Linked DNA regions of Homo sapiens: region 2 is linked to region 1. The links are contacts of gene promoters, found by promoter capture Hi-C in blood cells and fetal thymus (Javierre and others, 2016). All regions are on one chromosome and are shown on one strand. The core of a region is centred on a gene start or on the middle of the fragment in contact, and the rest is flanking DNA. Distances in the headings are between cores, read along the strand shown. Region 1 holds the start of MPPED1 (metallophosphoesterase domain containing 1). Region 2 overlaps LINC00229 (long intergenic non-protein coding RNA 229).

Evidence for each region. The method cuts DNA at HindIII sites, captures the fragments that hold promoters and counts their contacts. A CHiCAGO score of 5 or more calls a contact.
Region 2: a fragment that was not itself captured here is called in contact with the fragment with the promoter of MPPED1 in region 1 in 1 of 17 cell types (neutrophils); the score reaches 7.4 in neutrophils.

What each region holds. Positions count from the first base shown.
Region 1 is chr22:43,410,028-43,414,421 of GRCh38, reverse strand. It overlaps MPPED1 (metallophosphoesterase domain containing 1), which reads right to left and starts at 2,408. Exons shown (of 7, transcript NM_001044370.2): 1 at 2,264-2,408. The HindIII fragment of the contact is 9,110 bases long and covers 1-4,394 here.
Region 2 is chr22:44,606,772-44,611,165 of GRCh38, reverse strand. LINC00229 (long intergenic non-protein coding RNA 229) reads left to right here. Exons shown (of 5, transcript NR_044991.1): 4 at 4,118-4,235. Among named protein-coding and RNA genes, the nearest start is that of LINC00229, 16 kb to the left of the region's middle. RefSeq lists an enhancer at 3,258-3,963. The HindIII fragment of the contact is 1,562 bases long and covers 1,783-3,344 here.

The DNA.
Region 1 (4,394 bases), core at 1,159-3,658:
CCCGCACCCAGAATGCTGATTTTTCTCCTTAATGCTGCCCTTCACGGAATCCCAGCGACCACCGTCATTCCTCAAACAAGCAGAGAGAGATGTGTCCTGTATAAAGTGAGCATACCAAGGCCCGTACTGCCTAGTTGGGAAGGTAGCAAAGTTCAAAGAAGAACAAATGAACTTAAGCCACATTCATTGGATGAAGATTTAAGAGTCTCATGGGTGAGCTGGGAATTTATTAAAAGCAGGCTTTTCAAGAACGATGATTCCCTACATCAGTCTGTGTATTCCTGACAGTTGGGGCTCAAGTAAAACACCCTAAAATTCTTATTGTTCGCCTAGATCTAAACCTGTCCTATCTGTCTACAGGCATAGCCCACGGGGCATCAGCCAGGGTGGATGTGAGTGATTCTAAGCGTACCACGGGGTGGTTACATCAGAGGTACCTCCTCGGCCATGTAGGTGACTCTCTGAACCCATCCACATCACCAGTACAGGGACCTCATTCAATCCAGGTCTTCCGAAATTCCTGGGGCCGAGAAATAAATAGGAAGGCAGTCCCACACTGAAACACTTCCGAACACACGATTAAGCCTCCGTGACTGGATTATCGCCTTTTGACTAGCCATCGCCCAATTAATGTACCTCCAGTGAGCAAGCACTAGAATCGATGGAACCATTCCACCGAAATCCATCTCCAGAAAAAGATTTTACAAGTGTTGTGGGGCTGCCACTCAGAAAGCCAATTTGCAAGGAGCCCAGCACGGTGAAGCGCAGTTTATCATGCGTGGTTCCCACACAGAGGGCCCCTGCAGACTGCGCCTGGCTCCAGAATGCCTCCCTAGCACCACAAGCTCAAACGCATTGAGGTTCTCCCCTGCCTCAGCCCGGCCGAATCCATCAGCACCCTCCCCAAATAGTCTCTTAGAGCCCTGGCTCCTGTACACCAAGATCTGGCTTCCGACTGGACGTGGCAGTCAGCTGGTGGCCTCTCCAACATCGCCCTGTGCCAGGTTTCTCACCAAGTTGGTTTAATTTTTTTTTTTTTTTTGCAAAGTCCAGTCAGATTATTGACAGTGCCTGTCTGCCTGACCCGCCCCCGCCCCCCGGCGCCGCAGATCCCTGCTAACAAGTCTCCCAGTGCCATTCAACTCCCGTGAGCCAGCTCCGCCATTCAACAGCCAGCCCACTTTTGTTCCCCCAGTTTAATTTCATAATTGTTTGCCACTTAACAAGCTCTCCTCTGGGCCATTCAATAGAGCAGGGGAAATGGGGAGGGGGAAGGCAAAGAAACTCTGGGAGGGGAGCTGGGAGCCAGGCCAGCCCAGCACTGGGGAAGAGACATCCCAGAGAGGTCAGCTGGACAGGGGTGGGGGCCAGTTCCGGAGTGGAGCCTCCTGACACCAACTGGGCCACCCAGCTTGAGCCCGGAGAGGTGGGAGGGAAAGGAGCAGGGTGAGTTCCGAAGGCCAGGCCGGGGCCTGCCAGACTCCTGGGCACATCAGTGCTCTGAATGACACGCCTCTGGCCCTGCCAGGGTGAAGGGAGACAGCATGAATTCACGCTCCCGTAACATGTCCCAGAACAAACACACAGGAGACAGAACTGCTCCTTAGTTTGGGCATTCCATGATCAACATTCCCTTTGAGGGCTGGGACCTGTCTAGGTAGCCACTGAATCCCCTGGCCGAGCACATAGCAGACAGGAATAAATATGTGTTGAGTGAGTGGATGGATGGATGGATGGATGGATGGATGGATGGGAGGGAGGGATGAATGGATGGAAGGAAATGGATGAAGTTTCCAGCAATACCTAGCAAAAGTGGCCACTCGGCCAGCGTTCGTTCCCTATCTCTTCCCCCCCAAGTGCCAGCAGGGGCTTGGCAGCGCACACAGTAGGCTCTCTACAAGCGGGGGCTGCTATTGTTACCACTATCATCATCACTGGCACTCCACCAGCCCGCTGCTTCCACCAGCTACTCCGCCAGCAGCAGCAGCGACTGGCGAGCAAGGGAAAAGTTTCGCTGACCCCGCGGCCCCAGCCGGAGTCCCGCGCCCTGGCGGAGCCCCCTCCCGCCGCCGCCCGCTAGGCAGGCGGGGCAGCTGGGGTGCCCAGCCCGCTTCCCGCACCCGGCAAAGGCGGCCAAAGTAACTTTGCGGGCGCCCCTGCGCAGCGCCGCGGGCGTCGCCCAGCGCCTGGAGAGGGTCCCGGCCGCGCCCCGCGCCCGGCCTCCCGCCCGCGCCCGCCGCGCCCCGCCCGCCTCCGGTCCTACCTGGCCCCGGGCTCCTCTTCGGCGGCCGCGGCGGCTGCGAGCAGCAGCGCGCACCGAGGGAGGCAGGGGCTCCCGGGAGGGAGGCGCGCAGGGGCGGGGGCTCCTCCGGCGGCGGCCGCCTCGCCGCGCGTCCGAGGCTGCAAGTGGGAGCCAGACTCCTCCTTCGTGGGGCGGGGGGCTCCCCGCGCCCCCTCCGCCGCCCGCCCGCGCGCCGCGAGGCTCCGAGCCTCCTTGGCTCCCCCCGCCCGCCGCCGCCCGCCTCCCCACGCCCGCCCTCCCCGCCTCTCCGCGCCCGGCCGCCGGGAGGGGCGCGCTCGCGGCCTCGGTCCCGGCCCTTGCGCCGCCACCCGCCGGGGCCCCCGCCAGGCCCGCCAGGCCTCGGCCCTCGGCCCCCGCCCGGGCTCGGAGTCCGCATCCCGCTGCGGAGGGACAGGGAGCGCGGCCGCGGGCCTGGACGCGGGAGGAGGAGCGGGGCCCGCGCTGCGGAAAAGGGAGGGGGCCGCCCCACTGCGCCCGGCGCCCCTCTTGGCGCCCGCCCCCAGCCCCGGACCGGGCCGCGCGCGGGCTGGGCAGGGAGCGGGGCGGGGGCGCTCTCACCTCCGGATCCGTGGCCTCCGCAGCGGGCACCGCGTGCAGGGGCGTGCGCGGCTCCTTCCGGGGCGCCGCAGCCTTCGCCCGAGGCCCGGACCCCCTCCTGGGGCCGCCGGGGCACCCTGCTGTGGGCCCCTCCCGCCCGGGGTCTGGAAGGTCCCCCTCCGGAGACGGAGACACTCTGACCCCAGCTCCCAGTCTGAATAGGTCGGGGTCCTCCTCCTGGGCCACCATCTCTTCCACTCGGGAGTCACAGGTCCCCAATCCCGGGCACAGCAGGTAGCCTGCAGCGGCCGGAGCCCCAACGGGATGGGTAAACAAGTCAGGAACTCAGACGGCGCGACACCCAGTGTAAAGAGGCCCTGCCTTGCTGGGAAGAGCAGAGACCATCGCCTTCAGTGTCGGGGGTCACCCTGGGGAGTTTAAGGCCCTGTGGCTTCCAGCCCCTTGCCGCGGGTGGGACGGGGATTCCAGGGCCTTGTATAGTTAGGGTGCAGATCACTCTGGCCTGGGCCTCCCAGACTGAGAGGAAGATGAAAAGGGGCTGTGGCTCCTCAGAGGCCCAAAGCCCCTCAACAAATGCTTGTAGGGTCTCCCTTCACCAACACACACATCACACAATCCCCAAGGACACCCTCTGCGGGCCCCTCAGGCCTATTCTGCCCCTGAGGACTGCTATCTGGTGTGGCTTCCTGGAGGTGGGGACAGCCCAGTTGAATGAGTGTATGCCAGGAGAGAAGGCCTGGAAAAGACATCCAGGCCGAGGGAATGCGGCATGCAAAGGCCTTGGCATGTGAGTTCATTGGGGCTAGAGACAAAGGAAAAGCAAGGGAGGGAAGATGAGGTGGCAAGGCTGGGAGTGAGGGAACAGAAGCCAGATCGGGAAGAGCCTTGGATAGACTTTATCAGGGGCAGTGGGAGCCATAGAGGGTTTTTAAGCAGGGCTGTGACTTGGTCACGTTTATCTTTTTACAGCTTGTTCTGGCACCTCTAAAGACAGAGGTAGAGGGGGAGAGGCTGGGCTATGGAGGGAGAGGATGGAGGCCTGGGGCCCTCAGGCCAGAGATGGGGGGCAAGGGCTGGCCGAGGAGTCCTGAGGCAGTCACCCCCTCCTGCTTCCTTGTCTTTAGACCCCAATTCTCTCTCAGGGAATCCCAAACTCAACCCGGGAGCCTCTTTCTCCTCCTAGGCTACAGGCTTCCTGAGCACCGTGACTTCGAGGGAGGTGAAGGAGAAAACTGTCATGCCTGCCTGGGAAGGCGGCTTGGACTCAGTGTCTCAGCAGACCCCACCTGCCGCCTGCCTGGGACAAAGCCACAGCTTGGCTGTGGCCTCTGGAGATCACAAAGGACAGTGACAAATGTGCCTTCCTGGTCCCTGGGTCGAGAGCAGAGGTTCCTGTGACACTTGTCCTCCAAGGCCAGCTTCCCCACCACCTCCAGTCCTACCAGAACTACCCTCAAGTCCCAGAGCATCATCTCTTACCTTCCCAGGGTACACATTTATTGAGCATCTACCATATTCCTGGCACTCGGCACTT
Region 2 (4,394 bases), core at 1,314-3,813, 1.2 Mb before region 1:
GTTTATCCATGTTGGCCAGGCTGGTCTCGAACTCCTGACCTCAGGTGATCTGCCTGCCTTGGCCTCCCCAAGTGCTGGGATTACAGCCGTGAGCCACCGCGCCTGGCCTGGATGTTCCTGTTTAACCATTGGTGGATGAAGGACATCAGGGCTGTTTCCAGTTTTGGCTATGACAAGTCAAGCTGCTATGAACACTTGTGTACAGGTTTTTGTGCAGATGTTTTATTTCTTTAAGACGAGTGCCCAGGAATGCAATTGCTGGGTCACCCGGTAATTATATGTTTAGTTTTTTTTTTTTTTTTTTTGAGACGGAGTTTTGCTCTTGTTGCCCAGCTGGAGTGCAGTGGCACGATCTCAGCTCACTGCAACCTCTGCCTCTGGGGTTCAAACGATTCTCCTGCCTCAGCCTCCCGAGTAGCTGGGATTACAGGCACGCACCACCATGCCTGGCTAATTTTTTTGTATTTTCAGTAGACAGGGTTTCATCATGTTGGCCAGGCTGGTCTCAAACTCCCAAAGTGCTGGGATTACAGATGTGAGCCACCGCGCTCGGCCTATGTTTAGATTTTTTAAGAAATAGCCAAGCTGTTTTTCCAGTGTGTCTGTCCCAAGACATCCATAGCAGCAGCATATCATGATCCGGGTTCTTCACATCCTTGTGAGTGTCTGGTGTCATTATTTTTCATTTTAGCCATTCTGTTAGGTGTGTGGGAGAGGTGTGATATTGAGTTAGTTACTTCACTTCTCTGAGCTCTATGTCCTCATCATGGGCCGTCTGATACGGCTGTCAGAAATGCTGGTGAAGTAAACACGTGTAAAGAACTTGGAACGATGCCTGCTCTGTTAAGAGGGCTCCTAACACCTTAATAATTATGATCACATTGAACTATACGAAATTGCCAATGTGGGATCACTTTTGGCCCATAAAAACCCTGAGACTTGATACAGCTCCTCCTCATATTGTTATTAAGGATCAAATGCCTGCATGATTCAGAGTGCAGGGCAGACGTGTCCCTCCTGCCTCCGCACCAGCTGGGTGGGCTCCTTGGTCCTCACCTGCAGGGAGGGCTTTGGTGCCCGGTGAGCCACTGGGCTTCCCCAGCAAGCCACAGCTTGTCACCTGAGGTCAGGGCAGAGGAGGAGCTAGAAGATTCATCTGGTCACTGAGTAGAGTAGGCAGGGGGCGGGGGAGAAGAGTGGTTGGGCACTGTGCCAGTGGGTGGCTGGGTGATGGGCGTGGTGGGCAGGGCCTGGGCCAGCTCATACTGTGCCCATGGATGGCTGGGTGATGGACATGGTGGGCAGGGCCTGGACCAGCTCTCTTGAGTCCTGGGTTTTCCTACCTCTGATCTGGGGTGGGGCGTGGTGGCACCAGATCCTTCCTCTTTGAGCTCCACTGTTCCAGTGCCCACTGAGGGGCCGTCACGGGGTGATAGGGGTCGGGATGTGGTGGTACTCTGGACAGCTCCTAGGTGCTGGGCAGATGTGCAAGGGTTTCATTATTATGGACAAGCATTTGGAGAGCAGAGCCCAGCCTCCTGCAAGTGGGGATCTGTTCGGAGGGACAGCCTAAGACCCCCTCGGGGAAGGGCGCTGCCTGCAGAGCTACCAAGATGCTGGAAACCTTGGACTGGCCCGTGCATGAGGGTGATCTGCAGGGCCTGGCTGCTCTCTGCCGAGCCCTTAAGAAGGGATGGGGCCATGCCCAGGCATCTCTGTGTCCCCAGGGGCCCAAGGAAGGGGCTCCGTGAGGTTGGCCAAGCAGCCGAGTCATAAGAAGCTTCATTTATGGGGGACGGTGCTGCTTCCAGAACACACTCTCCTCCATCTCCTTAAGGGCAAACGACCTTATAAGGGAGTCCTGGCACCTTCCCAATTTTTCAGGCTCAAGAGAGGCTCCCTCAATGAGGCAAGCAGAGTCCCTGCCCAGAGCCCCCAACTCCACACCTCCCCAGGATGCAGGCCCAGGAGAGGCCCCCTCGATGAGGCGAGCAGAGTCCCTTCCCGGAGCCCCCCAACTCCACACCTCCCCAGGACGCAGGCCCAGGAGAGGCCACACCCTTGTTTCTCTCCTGCTTCCCCAGCATGGCCTCAAGAATGCGGGAAACAGTTCTGGAGACAGTCAGATGAGTGTCTCACTGGTATCTTCCCCTGCCCAAGGACCCCCGTACCCCACCTATCCCGCCCTCTCCAGGCTGAAGCCTCCAGGGCTGAAAGCCAGGCCACCGGTCTAGCACTTGGGGGGTCCAGGGGCCCCATCATACCCTCCCCTGCTGTCTTGTGGGGAACCAGGGTGGGAGCTGCCCTTGGAAGCAGTCCAGGAGAGGGGACACTCCCTCTGATTGTTATGCAAATTGCTGGGCTTCGCTGATTACCATACATGCATATTAATCCTGCCTGGGCTGGGATGGGACAGGCTGTCTGGGCCTCATGGCAGGCTGCTTCGGGGCTGGTTTGGGAGCAGTTGAAAAGCAAAGGAAAGGAGGCTGCCTCTCTCTGGCCCTGCTTAAGTGAAAGGTAGATGAGGGTTTTGTCTCCAGGGGCCCTGCTGGGTTCAAGGTGCCAGATGCCTGTGGAGCCCCAGGAGGGTGAAGCACTGGCAGGCACACCTGGTGGGCTTGGAGGTGGGGCATAAGGGTATCTGGCCCCAGGGCATCCTTAGCGTGGTGACTAGCGTACCCCGGGAAACAGGCGGATGGAGGGTGAGGGTCAGGGCAGGAGGAGTCCACTGCCGAACTGGAGCCTGGACAGAATGGGCTGGCCTGGAGGGCACCGGCGCTACTCTGCTGCCCAAGTTCCACACCTGGATTCTGATATCAGCAACGCTCTGGAAGGCAGGACAGAGCATCCCCATTCTACAGATGAGAATGCAGAGGCTCAGACAGGGGAAGAGGCTTCCCCGAGGCCACACAGCGGGAGAGGGCCGGCACTGGAGCCCAGGCCTGCCTCACCGAGGGGTCCCCTCAGGTCCGTTCTGTGTCATGGAGTGGGAGGCTGGCCTGACCTGACAGCCAGCAGGTGAGGGCTCAGCTCTGTCTCTCTGAGCTGGGAGAAGTTGTGGTTCCCCTGATATGTGTGGGTTTCCTCCCTGGGAGATGCGCAAATCATCACACCTGCCCACTCGGCCACCGTGAGGGTTAAACGACAGAGCTCTAGGAATATACCTCACTCTAGCTGTTGTTGCTGGTCCTGGGAGCGTAAGTCGGGCGGGGAAGGGAAATGGGGCATCACCAAGGGGTCCTCTAGCAGTGCCTTAGGATCGGGAGAGGCTGCTGTGGCTGGGACCCAGTCTCAGACATCCAGAGCCTTCAGAACTTAGGGGCCCCAAGGAAGTCACTGAAGCTTCGTTTGTGGGGGATGTTGCTGTTTCCAGAACACTCTCCCACCTCCTGGATTCCGTCGGGTGAGGTTTTAAAGTCATACTCACAGGTGCTGGGGGTGAGGATCTCAACCTGTTTAGGGGACCGCATTTGTACCCACACCTCCCTTCCCTGCCGCACCTGACCCTGTGCCCCTTTGCTGTCTAGAACCTTCCTTTCTGCCCCATTTCTGAGGCCCCTTCCCTCTGAATGCCCCTCCCAGGCCTCCTCTTGGCCGTGTGTGTTCGGGGCCTGTCCCGGCTGCCTCCGCTCTTTCTGTGCCTCTCTCTGGGTCAACTCAAATTCTGATGGCTCCTGGTATCTCCACGACCCCGACTCTCTCATCTGAGCCTCTGCCTGTGCCCTCCTGCAACCCCCATGCATCCTCAGCCTTGGCATCCCCCGAGGAAGCCCCGGGCCCCTCAGTTCACCGCAGGCTGAGCCTCCCATCTCCCCTGGGGCTGCCGTTTTAGCTGCCCAGGCCAGGCACTGGGCGCCATGTCTGACCCTCCTCCTCCTCCATCCCCATCCTCCTTCCCCACCACCGGCCATCCCTCTGCTCCACCCCTGCTCAGGTCTCGCCTCCTCCCTGGGCCCCTGCCTGCACCTGACTGTTCTGCAGCCTCCACTCTCCTCCCTGGCAGTTTGCTGATGTCAATGCTGCAGGTGGCCTAGGCACTGCTACCCCTGGGCGAGGGGGTCTCCGTTTTCCAAATCTTGCTTTTTCACCACTGGAGCCCACCTTCTTATCCTCTTAGGTTGCCACGAAACATCCAATATTTGAAAGTGTTCTATGGACCTCAAAGGGCAAGAGACACCTTAAAATGTTTGCTGGATGGCTGTAGGAGGGTAGAGCCCTGGTGGGCACACCTGGTGGTGAGCTTGGAGGCGGTAGGAGGGTAGAGCCCTGGCGGGCACACCTGGTGGTGGGCTTGGAGGTGGTAGGAGGGTAGAGCCCTGGCGGGCACACCTGGTGGTGGGCTTGGAGGCAGGGTGTAAGGAGACCTGCCTCCAGGTAGGAGGGAGGGGAAGGGA